Linked DNA regions of Homo sapiens: regions 2 and 3 are each linked to region 1. The links are contacts of gene promoters, found by promoter capture Hi-C in blood cells and fetal thymus (Javierre and others, 2016). All regions are on one chromosome and are shown on one strand. The core of a region is centred on a gene start or on the middle of the fragment in contact, and the rest is flanking DNA. Distances in the headings are between cores, read along the strand shown. Region 1 holds the start of LIG4 (DNA ligase 4). Region 2 overlaps ING1 (inhibitor of growth family member 1). Region 3 holds the start of RAB20 (RAB20, member RAS oncogene family).

Region 1 (4,883 bases), core at 2,132-4,631:
TGCTTTAAAAGAAAATATATTCTGTAAAAAAAAAAAAAGAAAAAAAAGAAAAGAAAAAAAGGGGGGGAGTGTAGTGGAAACTGAGTATAATAAAATGCCAAGTGCTTTAACAAAATAAAACAAACGTAAAATGTCCTGAGGGGAGAGCTTTTCCCTAAAGTATCTGCTAAAGTCAGAGAAGAAATAATGGGTACCTTGCTAAGCTAGGGCAAGAATATTTCCTAAAATTTCACAAGTGTAAATTTCTTTAGTTTTAAATATTCATACAAGTTCTACTGGAAGATAAATATATTAGAGTAATTTTAATATGGTTTAAACTATGTAATGTTAAATAACTTTTCCAAAAAAAGATTTCAAGTAAAATGTATGGTCCATGAATAGAAACTATGTTTTATCCTGTGGTTTCAGACCCCTCCTGGCACACCACCATGTATCCCAGGCAGTGGAGTTGGAGAAGTTTTGCTGGGAGTGGGGAGATCTATTACAGTGCAGAAAATATGTGACTCCCCATCTTCCAATTCGCAAACAAATGAGCAACACACACATGCACAAGGCTACATTATCTAGTATCCAGTAAAATAAATCAAATGGCTAATTACAATACTACATTTACTATACTGTCAGTATCTAGAGGCCAGGAATTGTGCTGTAATTTGTGCTCTAGTGGCAGACATGTAGGAGGTTTGCTGAATGAATTACTGAACACCTAGAGTTGACTCCTGGATAAGCACACTAGGGAAAGCTATGGTCTGGTTACATACCACACACTCACACACGCACGCAGACACACAGTGGGTGAGATTCAGTTTGGTTAAAAATATTCAGTAGCTCTGACTGCCCTGGCAATGGTTTACAACAGCCATTTGGTGGCCTATAGAGAAAAAAGGTGCACTTCTCAGTCTAATTTCTGACAAAGGAAACCCAGCTTCTACTGAGTGGGTTAGATCGAGGGATAAACGCATGACAGACCACTTTCCTGAAACTTTTATCTTTGAATATACTGTTGTTTCCTCTCTCTGAATCTGGTTTGCATAACTGACTGTAACACCTGGTTATGTATGTTCACTGCCCTATCTCCCAAAATTTGCTCCCTCAAGGGAGTAAACAGGGTACACAATGCTATATCTACAATTTCTATATAAACTATGTAAAATAAAGTAGGTTAACTAATATTTCTTTAATATTCAAATATTGGTATATAGTTTCTACAGATATATCTATAGATTCTACATGGTCTCAAAGTTAAAGTTTCGCTCAACAAATCCCAGGCAAGGACTTAAATTACTTTATAATGACAAAATGTAGGTAATGGTGTGGATACACATGTATCCTAAAATGGCTACGCCTATAACAAGGATTCCAAAATTGCCATAAACTAGTCGTAAGTATTTTTGCTCATTACAACGGCATAAAAAGTCAAAGATTAGGACTTCCATTCATTTTTACATGCTAATTTTATTTTTTGGATTCTGAGGATTTTAGCTGATTCATTCCATTTGCAGTAAGACAAATGAGGAGGTTCCTGGTTAGGGCTCAGGTTTTAGACTCTAATAAATCTGAGTTCAAATGTGGATGGTAACATTTAACAGCTGTGTGATACTGGGCAATTACTTAATTTCTCTAAGCTTCAGTTTCCTAAAGTATAAAATGGGGTTAAAAACTATGTAGAAATTAGAATGAAGATAAAAATCAGATAATCTACAAAATGTGCTTTAAAAAGTAGTAAGTCTTGATAATTTTAATACTATAATGCTTGCTGATCCAAGCAACATTTAAAATATAAATATTGCAAAATATTAACGAGATAAAAAGGTGGGAAGAAGCTTCACTCTTTAACAATAAGCAAAGCTTTCAGGAGAATGAATGCAAGCAATTAGTACACAATAACGATTCATCATTCATTCAGTTCTGACTAAATTGTCCTGAAGTGACACATGAAAATAAACCGGCAGGTTTTATTCAGTGACTATGGAAGGTGATTAAGTGCTATGCTATTGCACTTAAAAAAGAGAGAGGAAAAAAAGGAGTAAGTGACGAATGCAACTGAAGTATCCTTCATGCAACCCTTGACAAGCTGTGTTTCCCTAGGAAACAAAGGGTTTACAGCTGCCTATCTTCCACAGCACTTAGTGACAATTTGGGACAATCTCAGCAAAAAGAAATGAGCAGACAAAGACGCTAGAAGGGCTTTGGGATCCCAAAAGTTAATGAAAGACCAAGTGTAAGAAGAGAAATAAAGTAATTCCCTCCAAGCCTAAAGTCTCTCCCGCTCCAATGCCCCCTGTACCCTCTCGGAAAATGGAAAATCCCTAAGGAGTCTACATCATTCCTCTGCCCGTTCCCCCTACTCTCCCCCAACCCTTCACGGATTCCCAGTGAATACCTGGCCTCGGGCAAGCTCCGTTACCTCTGTGAACCAGAGAATCCCAGCTGTAAAATGAGATCTTGATGGTTTCCTGCGGGGTTGCCATGAGAAAGAATCAACATGTACGCAGGTAAAGCAGGCAATACAGTTCCAGGGAGTCAAAAACGGGAGAAATCGTCCCACGACCTGGGGCTTGGGTCTAGATGAAGAGCACAGCATCAGGAGGCCAGGCTTCTAATGCGGCGCAGTCTACAGCGCTGTGGACTCGGCAACTCCCATCACCTGCCGCTGCACAAACACCCTGCTTGCTGCCCCCATAGACCGACCCCCGCCTGACGCCTCCCAGACCCCCCCACCTGACGCCCCTCAGGCCCCCCGCCTGACGTCCCAGACACCCCCACGACCGGATCCCCCAGACCCCCAATCTGACGCCCCACTTCCCCTACTTGACTCCCCACACATCCCCCGCCTGACGACCCCCCGACCCCCGCCTGACGTCCCAGACACCACCCATCTGATCCCCCAGACCCCCAATCTGACGCCCCACACCCCCCACTTGACTCTCCACACACCCCACACCTGCCACCCCACGTAAACCCCGCCTGACACCTCACAGACCCTAACCTGACGCCCCACAGACCTCCCCCGCCTCCTGCCGCCACACACACCCCAAACCCCGCCCCGAACACCCCCCACCTGCCGCCCCACAGATTCCCCCCTCTGACGCCCCACAGACCCCCAACGTGACGCCCTACAGACCCCAACCTGACGTCCCACAGATACCCCGCCTGACGCCCCACAGACCTTCCCCCGGTCTGTTGCCCCACAGACTTCTCGCCGCCTGCTGGACCACACCTTCCACTTGACTCCCCCCACACCGTCAATCTGCCACCCCCCACCCCCCCCACCCCAACCCCCCCCAACCTCCCAACCGCCCCCACCTGCCACCCCACACCCTTCCCACCTGACGTCAAGCCTGAAGCTCAGCCGCTAAGCCGGAAGCTGGCGCCAGAAGATGCCGGTTCCGCCAGCTGCTCGCCGCGCAGGCGCAGGGGAGACCCGGGGCCTTGCAGTCACCGGGCTCAAGCACGCCGGCGCAGCCAGGCTCGCGATGGGAGGTGGGGGGGCCGGCAGCCCCGTGGGGCTGCGGAGGCGGGACCTGCAGGATCCTGGTTAGGGTCTTGAGTACACACGGCTCCTATTGGCCTCGGCAGCAGATGCTCTCTGCAAGCAGTTGATCCACACGCCAGTGGATTTTGTCTCGAGGGAGACCTAAGATCACTTTGTGCTCTGGCTAGTGATAGCCTCTAATTCTTGTTCTCTGTACGTAAAACAGTGGTAACTATACTGATTTCGCTGGTTGTGAAAACTCCCAAGAGAGAACAGGACATCCTCCCAACTCAAAACGTTGGTTGTTTCATTTAAACTTTTAAAAAATAGGCTTTTGCAAACTATATAGAGCTGTTTTTTTTTTTAAATGATGTTTGCTACTGTGGTCTCAGTTCTCTTAATACAGAAATAATACATAACAATACATAACTTACAATATAGAAATAAACCGTTGCATGACCAGAAATCAACTATGGACTCTTCTAGTATCTGTTTAAGGTTTAAAAATAAAGTTATTTAACAAACCTTTATTGAGCACCTATTATTATATAGTAATGGTGCTAGATATTCAGGGTGGAGAGATTATAAACAACCCCAGTTTTTGTGTTCCAGGAGCTGTTGGTTTCCACCGAATTTTTGCTGTGGTCAGTCCTCTTTCGCCATGGAGAAGTGAGAAGTTATTCATAAAGAGGGGTGGAAACAACTTTTAGAACTATTTTATTTTAGCATAAAATATTGCTTTACAATAAAATAAATTTTGCTGCAGTGGGCCCTGATAAAACATATTAGAGCTGTTAAGTGCCCTTAGAGGTTGTGTAATGTATAAAAACCTCCTTTTTCAAAACTGACACATTTCATTCAGTGCTAGTTTGTAGCGGAGGTTCCGTCTAGCCCAAGAACATTCAGTTATTTACTTCGTATGTCTAATTGACCTAATATGCCTGAATATCTAAAATCATCTGTGATGTTGTAAAGTCTCATGATATTGTTTTGTGAGTATCTGCTCTTCAATTTAGTTATCAATTTATTTTGGAGGAAAAATGAATAGTGTTAAGGTAGAGGAGCCTCCACTTGCCCATCTTAGGAGAGGGTACCTATCCGTGTACATTTGTAGCTTGTTCAACCTCTACTGAGCTCCTACAATGTCAGAAGCTGGACTTTGTATTAGTTACATGAGAAGAACCATGAATTATGAAACCAGGCAAACTCCAAATTGATTCAAAGCCCAGTCTCCATTTCATCATGTTATTTTAGTTGATTGGTTCAAAGACAATCAAGGGTTTTTTTCACTAAGTATCTTCTAGAGTTGCCATGATTATTAATTTATTTATGTAAATGGTCTACTTTATATATGCTTGGCACTTATTCCGTGATCAAGATTAGGAAGCTATGATTCAAGAACCCAGCT
Region 2 (4,883 bases), core at 764-3,263, 2.5 Mb after region 1:
CTCTGTTTTGAATGTGGATCACCACTCGGAGTTTACTAATGTTTACAAGGCTGCGCAGTAGGGAAACGGAAGAGTTGGGTGGGGGCAAAAAAAAAAATTGACCGCTATCCCCGAAAGTACTAGACGCCTCTGCCGGGAAGGCGCCCCTGCGCGTTCTATCCGAGACGTAGCTTCGCAGCGAATTTTATAGGAACTTCATTAGCATATTATGGAACGTCCCGCCTCAGCCCCCCAGTAGTTGGCTGTGATGTCCTTCGTGGAATGTCCTTATCATTCCCCTGCGGAACGATTGGTCGCTGAGGCGGATGAAGGCGGGCCTAGCGCAATAACTGGTATGGGTCTGTGTTTCCGCTGTCTTCTTTTTTCTTTTTCGGGGAGGAGCGGGGTGGAGGGTGGACGAGTTGATTTGAACGTCTTCGGGTCGCTCGGCCTCCAGCCTTGGATTGGTTCTTCTCGCTGCTGGGGCGGGCCGTGCTCTTCCGCCCTGCGGTGTGGTTGGTTCTCCTCCTGGCCTCCGCCCTCCAAATCGGCGATTCCCATAGGCGGCGGCTCTCGGGGTGCGGGGCGAGTCTCCCGCTGGCCTCCTCCCCATTGGCTGGAGGCCTGGCGGGTGTCGCCCCGGCCCCTCTCCCCGCTCAGCCCGGCCACTTTCGGGCGCGGATTTATAGCAGTAGCAGTGATCCCGGGCCTGTGGGCTCGGGGCCGGGGCTGCAGTTCGGACCGCCTCCCGCGACCCGCGGGGCCGGCTCGGAGACAGTTTCAGGCCGCATCTCTGCTGACCCGAGGGTGGGGCCGCGCGTGGCCGTGGAAACGTGAGTGACTGGGGCTGCGTCCACGAGGGGGACCCTCGGCGCAGAAACTTTTCTGGAAGGTGCTGTCCTCGGGCCGGACGGGCCCCGTGGGGTGACCCTGGGGCTCCGGACGGAAGGAAGGCAGGGGCTGAGACCACTTTGATCGTTCGACGATAGAAAAAAGTAGCGCGGGGCGGGGTGCAGGGTTCCAGCTGTCCAGACAGCAAAGTTCATGGAGCCACTTTGTCCTCCTGTCGTTGCTGGGGAGAGCCTGGCTTGCTGCTTGCTTCATGTTCACCTAGGGTGATGAACTTTTTGGCTTCAGGAAAGATCACAGTCCTGCCCCCCCGGGAGTACTGGAGCGGCGCAGCTGGGAGCGCCGAGAAGCGAGCGAATCTGTCGCAAGGGTCACAGCTCCTTGGACTTCGGTGTAAATGCTGAGCTCTGCCGCGTAGTTCTGAAAGACTTCCACAGACCTACTCTGTAGGAAGTCAAACGTCTTTTGCTTAGTAGGCATCAGTTGTATGTTAATTCATAAACTTGGATTATAATTAGTTTGTCGATTTAAAATGGTGTTTGAGGTTGCTTGAATTATTTTTCAAACATTATCATAAAAATACCCACCCACCCCCTGGGAAGTTCGCTTCATAAAGAACTTCAGTGCAACCCGTATGTAAAATTAAAATACATTTAAAATAATTGGACAAACCAATTTAAATGTTGCTACAACCCCATTTAATCTGTAAATTGCATGTGCTGCTGCTTTCCATGGTAATGTTGGTGTGGAATATGTTTGGAAAAAAGGCAGTAGTGTCTGAAGCTGAGTTGCTGGCATTGAAAAAGCAGAGTGTCTGGAAGGATGGCTTCCTATTTAGCAGTGGTGTTGTTCCTGTTTATAAATATTTGTACTTAGTGGCTTTGTTGATAAAATACTTTGCTTGGAGTATCAAAGAAATATTAGGTAACAGAAATACTTCTTGGTAATTTTGCGATGGGATATCTGTTTCTCTTGCCCACAAATTAGGCTTCACCTGGATGGAAGCTTGCTTGTGATGTAAAATAACTTCTGTGTTATTAAATTTTAAATTTATATGATACAGTTTTCTGTGAAATGACAATATTGTCTTTAGAACTTTGATTACTGATGAAAAGAAGTGATACCATTTTGTAACCCTAAATCCATTTAAAAATAAATGGTACACATATTTTAACATTATGATAAATAAGTTGAATAAATTGGTATTACTTGGATACGTTGAACACAGCTATTTATTTTTATAATTAATTACTATATGAGACTAGGGCTTTCCTCCTGGTGGCAGGCAGCCTGCATTGTTCCTCTAGGAGTCTTCAAAGCTGTCTTTAGTTTGAGAATATACTCTGGAAAATATTACCATTTAGAGAAGCTTCAGCGTTGGCCTGAGTTCTTATGTTTACTCTAGTGTTAGGTATATGTCTTATAACTATTTGGAGATAAGATCTGGAAAGGAAGGGGGTAACATTTTAGACAATCCCTCCCACTCTCAGCCCCTCCCCTAGTTTACAAGTAGTATTGTTGGCCAGGCACGGTGGCTCACTCCTGTAATCCCAGCACCATGGGAGACCGAGGCGGGCGGATCACCTGAGGTCGAGAGTTGGGAGACCAGCCTGTCCAACATGGAGACACCCTGTCTCTACTGAAAATACAGAATTAGCCGGGCGTGGTATTACATGCCTGTAATCCCAGCTACTCGGGAGGCTGAGGCAGGAGAATCGCTTGAACCTGGGAGGCAGGTTGCAGTGAGCTGAGATCGCGCCATTGCACTCCAGCCTGGGCAACAAGAGTGAAACTCCGTTTCAACAACAACAAAAAAAGGTAGTATTGTTGCCTTGTTTAAAGAGACTGCAAAAAGGTTTTAGGAGAATAATCTGGTACTGTTTAATTTAATGGTTACTGTTTGAGGAAAAAGAACTCTGGAATTTCTGTGTATTTAAGTAGCCTTTTTAGCAAGGCTGTTTACTTCAACTAGATTTTTTAATAGCTTTTGTTTCTTGAGAAATTGCCTAATTACACTTGCCAAATTACACTTTAAAATCATATACACTGTCCTCTAACATGCCCAGGAAGGTTTACATTTAAATACTGAAGAGGTTTTCTTTTGTTTTTGATAACATTTTAAAGTCCATTGACTTTAACAGATGTGAAGATGTTTTTGTTTAAGCAGTAGATGCAAAAGTAAAACCTACCAGCTTCGCTTTAAAGCAAGGCTAGTGCATTCACTGCAGTTAAAAAATAATAATAATAGCCCATCACAGTGGTGCTTCTGTAGTCCCAGCTACTCAGGAGGCTGAGGTGGGAGGGTCCCTTGAACCTGGGAGGTCGAGGCTGCAGTGAGCCGAGATTGCACCACTGCACTCCAGCCTGGGCGACAGAGACGGACCTTGTCTCCAAAATAATAACAAGTCGTAATAATAATAAAGCAAAGCTAGGTTTTCTGGATTATTGTGGCAGAACTGTTCTTGCTGTCACTAATACAGAGGGATAACATGCTAGAATAAATGTGGGGACTGAAACTGAGGACCTAAGTCACAAAGTATCCTGGACCTTTACTGTTAACCCGGTTCTTTAAATCATAGAGAGCTATTATATAAATTTATACACATTCTCTCATTTAACAGGGTATTCTAGATGTTGGTATATTAAAATAAAGAAAATAAAGACCTTTTTTATTTGAAATATTCAAATAATTTATAATATATTTTATTAATGTTTGTATATTGTGTATAAATGTAATAAATACCATGTTTATATAATGTTATATGTATATTAATAATTGTATTCAAATAGAAACATTTGAGTAAAAATGATGGCAGTATAGACATAGTCATTAATAGAAAGTATTAATAAATGTTGGGTCCCGAGCACTGCACCTCATTTAAACGTTTCCTCTTAATGGCTTCGGGCGTTGTCACCCGTGCGTGCCTGGGAACTGTTCTCAGGTTCCCTGGGGTGGCTGGAGCGGCTCCTGCCGCTGTGGAAGCTGGGCCGGCATTTGTGTTGTGTTGTGTTGTGTTGTGTTGTGTTGTGGTTAGCACAGGAACAGATAGGCCCGGGAGAGCCTGTGGCTGGTGGGCTTTGTTCTGGGCAAGCCGTGCGCTGGCCCCTAGGCTCCCTGCCAGCCCTCTCCGTAGACCCGTCCGGGGCCGTGTGGGTTGTCCCGGTGTCCTGCTCGCGAGTGACGCCTGTCCTTCTTGCCCCCAGAGATCCTGAAGGAGCTAGACGAGTGCTACGAGCGCTTCAGTCGCGAGACAGACGGGGCGCAGAAGCGGCGGATGCTGCACTGTGTGCAGCGCGCGCTGATCCGCAGCCAGGAGCTGGGCGACGAGAAGATCCAGATCGTGAGCCAGATGGTGGAGCTGGTGGAGAACCGCACGCGGCAGGTGGACAGCCACGTGGAGCTGTTCGAGGCGCAGCAGGAGCTGGGCGACACAGCGGGCAACAGCGGCAAGGCTGGCGCGGACAGGCCCAAAGGCGAGGCGGCAGCGCAGGCTGACAAGCCCAACAGCAAGCGCTCACGGCGGCAGCGCAACAACGAGAACCGTGAGAACGCGTCCAGCAACCACGACCACGACGACGGCGCCTCGGGCACACCCAAGGAGAAGAAGGCCAAGACCTCCAAGAAGAAGAAGCGCTCCAAGGCCAAGGCGGAGCGAGAGGCGTCCCCTGCCGACCTCCCCATCGACCCCAACGAACCCACGTACTGTCTGTGCAACCAGGTCTCCTATGGGGAGATGATCGGCTGCGACAACGACGAGTGCCCCATCGAGTGGTTCCACTTCTCGTGCGTGGGGCTCAATCATAAACCCAAGGGCAAGTGGTACTGTCCCAAGTGCCGGGGGGAGAACGAGAAGACCATGGACAAAGCCCTGGAGAAATCCAAAAAAGAGAGGGCTTACAACAGGTAGTTTGTGGACAGGCGCCTGGTGTGAGGAGGACAAAATAAACCGTGTATTTATTACATTGCTGCCTTTGTTGAGGTGCAAGGAGTGTAAAATGTATATTTTTAAAGAATGTTAGTAAAGGAACCATTCCTTTCATAGGGATGGCAGTGA
Region 3 (4,883 bases), core at 2,384-4,883, 2.3 Mb after region 1:
TCAGTTTATATTTGCCAACAACAGGCAACACCACTTTAGGCTGTCCTGAGCAACCGGGCAACACAGAGGAGCACAGCAGTACGTCTTCTAGGGCTCTGCCTCCTCGCTGGGCAACCTCCTTTTGCTTCCTGGATGTACCCACCCATGCACAGCAACCACTCCACATCTGTGTGCCCAATTAGACAAGGGCTGGGAGTGGCAAGTGCCCCCTAAAAGGGCATAATGAGACAAGGTGAGTTGGAGTTGGATGAACCAAGGTCTAAATCCCACTTAACTTCTGCTGTCTTCCCACTTTTTTTTTTTTTTTTTTTTGAGACAGAGTCTTACTCTTGTCACCCAGGCTGGAGTGCAATGGCGCAATCTTGGCTCACTGCAACCTCCGCCTCCAGGGTTCAAGCGATTCTCCTGCCACAGCCTCCCAAGTAGCTAGGATTACAGGCGCCAGCCACCACACCCAGCTAATTTTTGTATTTTTAGTAGACACGGGTTCACCACATTAACCAGGCTGGTCTTGAACTCCTGACCTTAGGTGATCTGCCCGCCTCACCCTCCTAAAGTGCTGGGATTACAGGCATGAGCCACCGCGCAGCCCTGTCTTCCCATCTGTTTTTTTTTTTTTTTTTTTTTTTGAGACAGAGTCTCGCTCTGTCACCGGGTTGGAGTGCAGTGGCACAATCTTGGCTCACTGCAACCTCTGCCTCCTGGTTCAAGCGATTCTCCTGCCTCAGCCTCCCGAGTAGCTGGGACTACAGGTGTGCGCCACCACGCCCTGCTAACTTTTGTATGTTTAGTAGAGATGGGGTTTCACCATGTTAGCCAGGATGGTCTTGATCTCTTGACCTCGTGATCCACCCACCTCAGCCTCCCAAAGTGCTGGGATTACAGGCATGAGCCACCACGCCTGGCCCCATCTTTAACATGCAAATAATCACACCTCCCTCTGGAGGACTGTTGTGTCAATGGAATAGGGTAATGTACTTCTGCCCTGCCAACTCTCTTCCCCCTCTTCAGCTCCATCCACTGCCTGCCTTGCAGGCTACAAGCAGCCAGGCATTGGGTGTACACTGACCCCCATGCAATCGTTTTTACTATTAAACATCCTGTCGCCCTCTGCACACCTGCACCCCCACCCCAGCCCACCCTGCCTTGTGTGGCTAAAAGCAACTTTCAAAATGGTTCCTCCTCCGGCTGGTCCTTACCATTCTGCCTCGGTTATGACAATTACAACAAAAACAACTTGAAAAGCAATGTCTGTGGGGTGGAGAGAAAGTTTAGGAGCTCAGCAAAAGAAGGAAAAGAACAGGGTCCCCTAAATGTTAAATTCTGAATTTCCAACAATTATAGAAAAGGTATCTGTTCCTACCTCTCTTTTCCCTTCAAGTACCCGGTCAGGCCACAGGCCACCGAGGAGGCAGGCAAGGGTGCCCTGTGTCCCTGCCAACTCTGGGCAAGGGCCGCCTGAGTGTGTACACAGGAAGTCAGGAATGTGGAGAAGGGGCCTGGCCACTCTCTGTTCTGAGGAGCTCTAGTAATTCACCCTTAGGATCTTTCGAACAAGCAGCAGCAGCCTCGGATGCCAGGAAATGAGCTGCTGCCCCCCAGTAACGCTTCAAGACATCTGGGGCGTCACATCAGCACAACTGCAAAATCTCTGGTGATCAGGATTCCGGCTGCATCACGTCCTTGGTGCTGAAGAAGCAAGAGGCCAGTGGAAACGAAACTGCTGCTTCATTCCCTCCGATGCAGGGGCCGTTCCAGCACTGCAGGGCAGCTCTTGTTCCAGAAACACACCGTGTGTTAAGAGTCTGCCTCCAACGGTGGCCACTACAGGGGTTTCGGTTAGGGTCCCCCAATAACACTCCTGCATTAACCTTGCTACTTGTAAACCAAGGGCAGCAGTAAATCCCAGCCAACCAGCAAAAGCAGCAGAGGGGCAAAGCTTTGTACAAAACCAAATTGGGTTCAATTTGACTTTGTACAGAAGCAAATTGGGTTCGTGAATTGGGTTCGATTTGACTTCTAGAGCGTGTGTTCCATCGTTACCAAATGCTCAGTGTGAGGGAGTCAGCTCAGTAAACCTCATCCTGCAGCCTGAGGCAGAAGACAGAGTTGGAGCAAAGATCAGGGAAATGCACCTCTTTACCTGGGGGACATTGTTTTCACAAGATGATTGCCAATAAATTAGTCACGATGTTAACTGGGATAATAATAAAAAAGCATCAAAGAAGGCAAAAGGGAGGGGGAGAACTGGAAGTACCTCTGTGAGCTTCGTTAATTCAGTTTTAAAGAGAGAATTCATTATCATCTTGTTTATTCAGCATACTGATACACCCAAGATGGCAATTTAAGAATTCTGGACGGGGCCTTTGGGTATATGACTTTTTAAGATGCTAACATAAAAGAAGTCAGAACTTTCAGAGTTTCAGGCTTCTAAAAACTCACACTCATTGAAAATGTGTCACACTATTTCCAGTTTCTTCATTCACTTACAATATCTTATTCTTTTGTAAGGAGAAGGAAATATATTCCATTGCAATGCTACAATCACCAGTGTTATTTTCCAAAGTTAAACAGAAAGCCTGAATTGAGATCCTCTAAGTTGTACTTTTGAAAAGTCACAAATACTACACAATAAAAATAACTCATTACCTATCTTAAAAATGCTTCCACCGGAAGTCACTCCAACCCAAACCCATATGACGTATCTGAGCCAAGATCAAGCAGAAGATTAACTGTAAAAGGCAGATATGCTCCGGGCTAAGAGGTCCGGAGGCTCCAGTTTTATTTCCTCTCTCCTGACTAAACCCAACAGGGGGGAACACTCTGTGCCTCATTTTACTTTTTCTTAGAAAGGGGCTAATAACACCAGCTCTGCTCACCCCTCAAGTGAATCTCAAAGGATATCATGTTCCTACGGGTACGTGAAAACTGAAAATACCTAACAAAGCAGCCACAGAGGAGCGTCTCTGGTTCCCAGGGCGGCAGAGCAGGAACGCGGGGCTCGGGAGCAAAGGCAGCTTAGGTACACAAATGACCAGCGGGTTCTCTGCAACTTGGGTTGTCCCTGAGGTCACTGAGTGGCTGAGAGGCAGCGCTCAGCCCAACCAGCAAGGGAGGACGAGTGGGAAACCCCGAGAAGGAGGCATTTGCTGTCCGAGGCCGGGACCCTGTGCGCGGCCGGGTGCCCTGCTGGAAGCCCCGCGCCCCCCGTCCCCGGCGGAGCCCCAGGGCGGTGTGGCTCATGCGGCGCCGGCCTCACCTGCGGTGTCCCAGATGGAGATGTTGTAGGAGCGCCACTGCTTCAGGTAGAAGGCGCCGCCCACCGTGCTGACCGTGTCCGGGAAGCGCCGCTCCATATACCGCTGCAGCAGCGACGTCTTCCCCACGTTCATGTCCCCCAGGAGCACGATCTTGCTGTCGGGCTTCCTCATCTTCCCGTAAGAACCCCCAGCGCCCCCGCGCCCTCTCCCCGAGGCTGGCCGGCTCGTGCGCCCTGGGCGCAGCTGGAGGAGCGGACCCCGGACTCGCCGGGACCCGGATTCTCGTGAACGCTCCGGGACCTTCGCCTCCGGACGCCCGGGAGCTCAAGAGAGGAAGCGCGTGTGCGCGCCCGGGAAGGAGCTGGGTGCAGAGCACGGAGCCCACGTCGGGGGCCCGGACCGCGGCGGCCTCGCCTCGCCCCGCCCCCGCCCCCGCCCCCGGGCCCTTTCACCGCCGCGGCCCCGCCCTATCCTCCTCCGCCCACCGCCCCCGTCCCGCCCCTGCTGGACCTCGCCGTTTCGCAAGCATCCGAGTTCTCCAGCCGAGGCTCGGGACTGCTGCAGGGTGGAAAATGAAAGTTCTGAGAGCACCTTCCGCCCCTCCGCTTCTGCACAGCCGGGGCTGCGGTGCGAGGAGCTTGGCCGCGGGGCCCGAACGAGGCGAAGGGGCCGGGGCCCTTGGGGAACCCCCTTCTCTCTTCCACTCTCCCTTAGGTAAAACCCGTGTTCCTCTCACGCTCGACCCAGCGCCTTTCCAGCTGCGGTCGATTTGCTTCTCCGCGTGTAAGTACAGCCACCCTCAAGGTCATTGAAAAAGTTTGCTTTAAATGAGCGTCTGCGGAACTCGTCCTGAGGCTCTCACTGTTACAGATTAGAGATGGGGGCGCTTTCTAGTGGAGGATTTTGCTTTTGCTCTTCTACTTTTGCAAGAAGCTTTTTGTCCTGAAAAGTGGACAGTCATCTCCATTTATAGCTTGGAATGAAAATTTGACTATGGAAGTTGCAGTCGCTACTTGAGAAATATTTCCTCCTTCTTTTTTTTTTTTTTTTTTTATTTTTGACACGGAGTTTTGCTGTTGTTGCCCAAGCTGGAGAGCAGTGCGCGATCTCGGCTCACTGCAACCTCCGCCTTCCGGTTTCAAGCGATTCTCCTGCCTCAGCCTCCCGAGTAGGCGGGATTACAGGTATGTGCCACCATGCCCGGCTAATTTTTGTATTTTTAGTAGACACGGGGTTTCACCATGTTGGCCAGGCTGGTCTCGAACTCCTGACCTCGTGATCCACCCGCTTCGGCCTCCCAGGTCCTCCTTCCGTTTTAAAGGATAAACCTTGAAATGCTTTTAAAATATGCAGCGTGTAGAATTTGGTTAGTTGGTTGGTTGGGGTTTTTTAGAGAAAATGAGAGGTAGAATGGACTCTAAGTTAAACCCTGGGGGACAGTGTCACTCTGGCCGCTGGCCTGGCTGGGAAAGGCGATGAGACCCTGAGCAGGTTAAAACCCGTGTCCTGAAGGTGTCCTGTAAAGGGAAATAGGCCCGTTGCCTCCTTCGTAGGTGCCCTGAGACTCCGACAAGGCAGGAATGCCAAGGTATTTCGTACCTGCTCAGCCCTGGCATGTCAGGT

The links. Contacts are between HindIII fragments. The CHiCAGO score rates a contact against its expected background, and 5 or more counts as called.
Region 2: a contact is called between a fragment that was not itself captured here and the fragment with the promoter of LIG4 in region 1, in 1 of 17 cell types (fetal thymus). The highest score is 5.2, in fetal thymus.
Region 3: a contact is called between the fragment with the promoter of RAB20 here and the fragment with the promoter of LIG4 in region 1, in 2 of 17 cell types (naive CD8 T cells and monocytes). The highest score is 6.4, in naive CD8 T cells.

What each region holds. Positions count from the first base shown.
Region 1 is chr13:108,212,155-108,217,037 of GRCh38, forward strand. LIG4 (DNA ligase 4) reads right to left here and starts at 3,382. Exons shown (of 3, transcript NM_206937.2): 1 at 3,330-3,382; 2 at 2,384-2,456. RefSeq lists an enhancer at 3,307-3,601 and a silencer at 3,445-3,584. The HindIII fragment of the contact is 5,824 bases long and covers 1,847-4,883 here.
Region 2 is chr13:110,715,197-110,720,079 of GRCh38, forward strand. ING1 (inhibitor of growth family member 1) reads left to right here. Exons shown (of 2, transcript NM_198219.3): 2 at 4,033-4,883. The coding sequence ends at 4,736. Among named protein-coding and RNA genes, the nearest start is that of ING1, 3.9 kb to the left of the region's middle. RefSeq lists enhancers at 311-480, 658-1,351, 1,221-1,310, 4,074-4,765 and silencers at 571-850, 881-930. The HindIII fragment of the contact is 364 bases long and covers 1,832-2,195 here.
Region 3 is chr13:110,558,089-110,562,971 of GRCh38, forward strand. RAB20 (RAB20, member RAS oncogene family) reads right to left here and starts at 3,634. Exons shown (of 2, transcript NM_017817.3): 1 at 3,260-3,634. The coding sequence starts at 3,431. RefSeq lists an enhancer at 1-352 and silencers at 3,194-3,253, 3,233-3,422, 3,314-3,763. The HindIII fragment of the contact is 2,254 bases long and covers 1,938-4,191 here.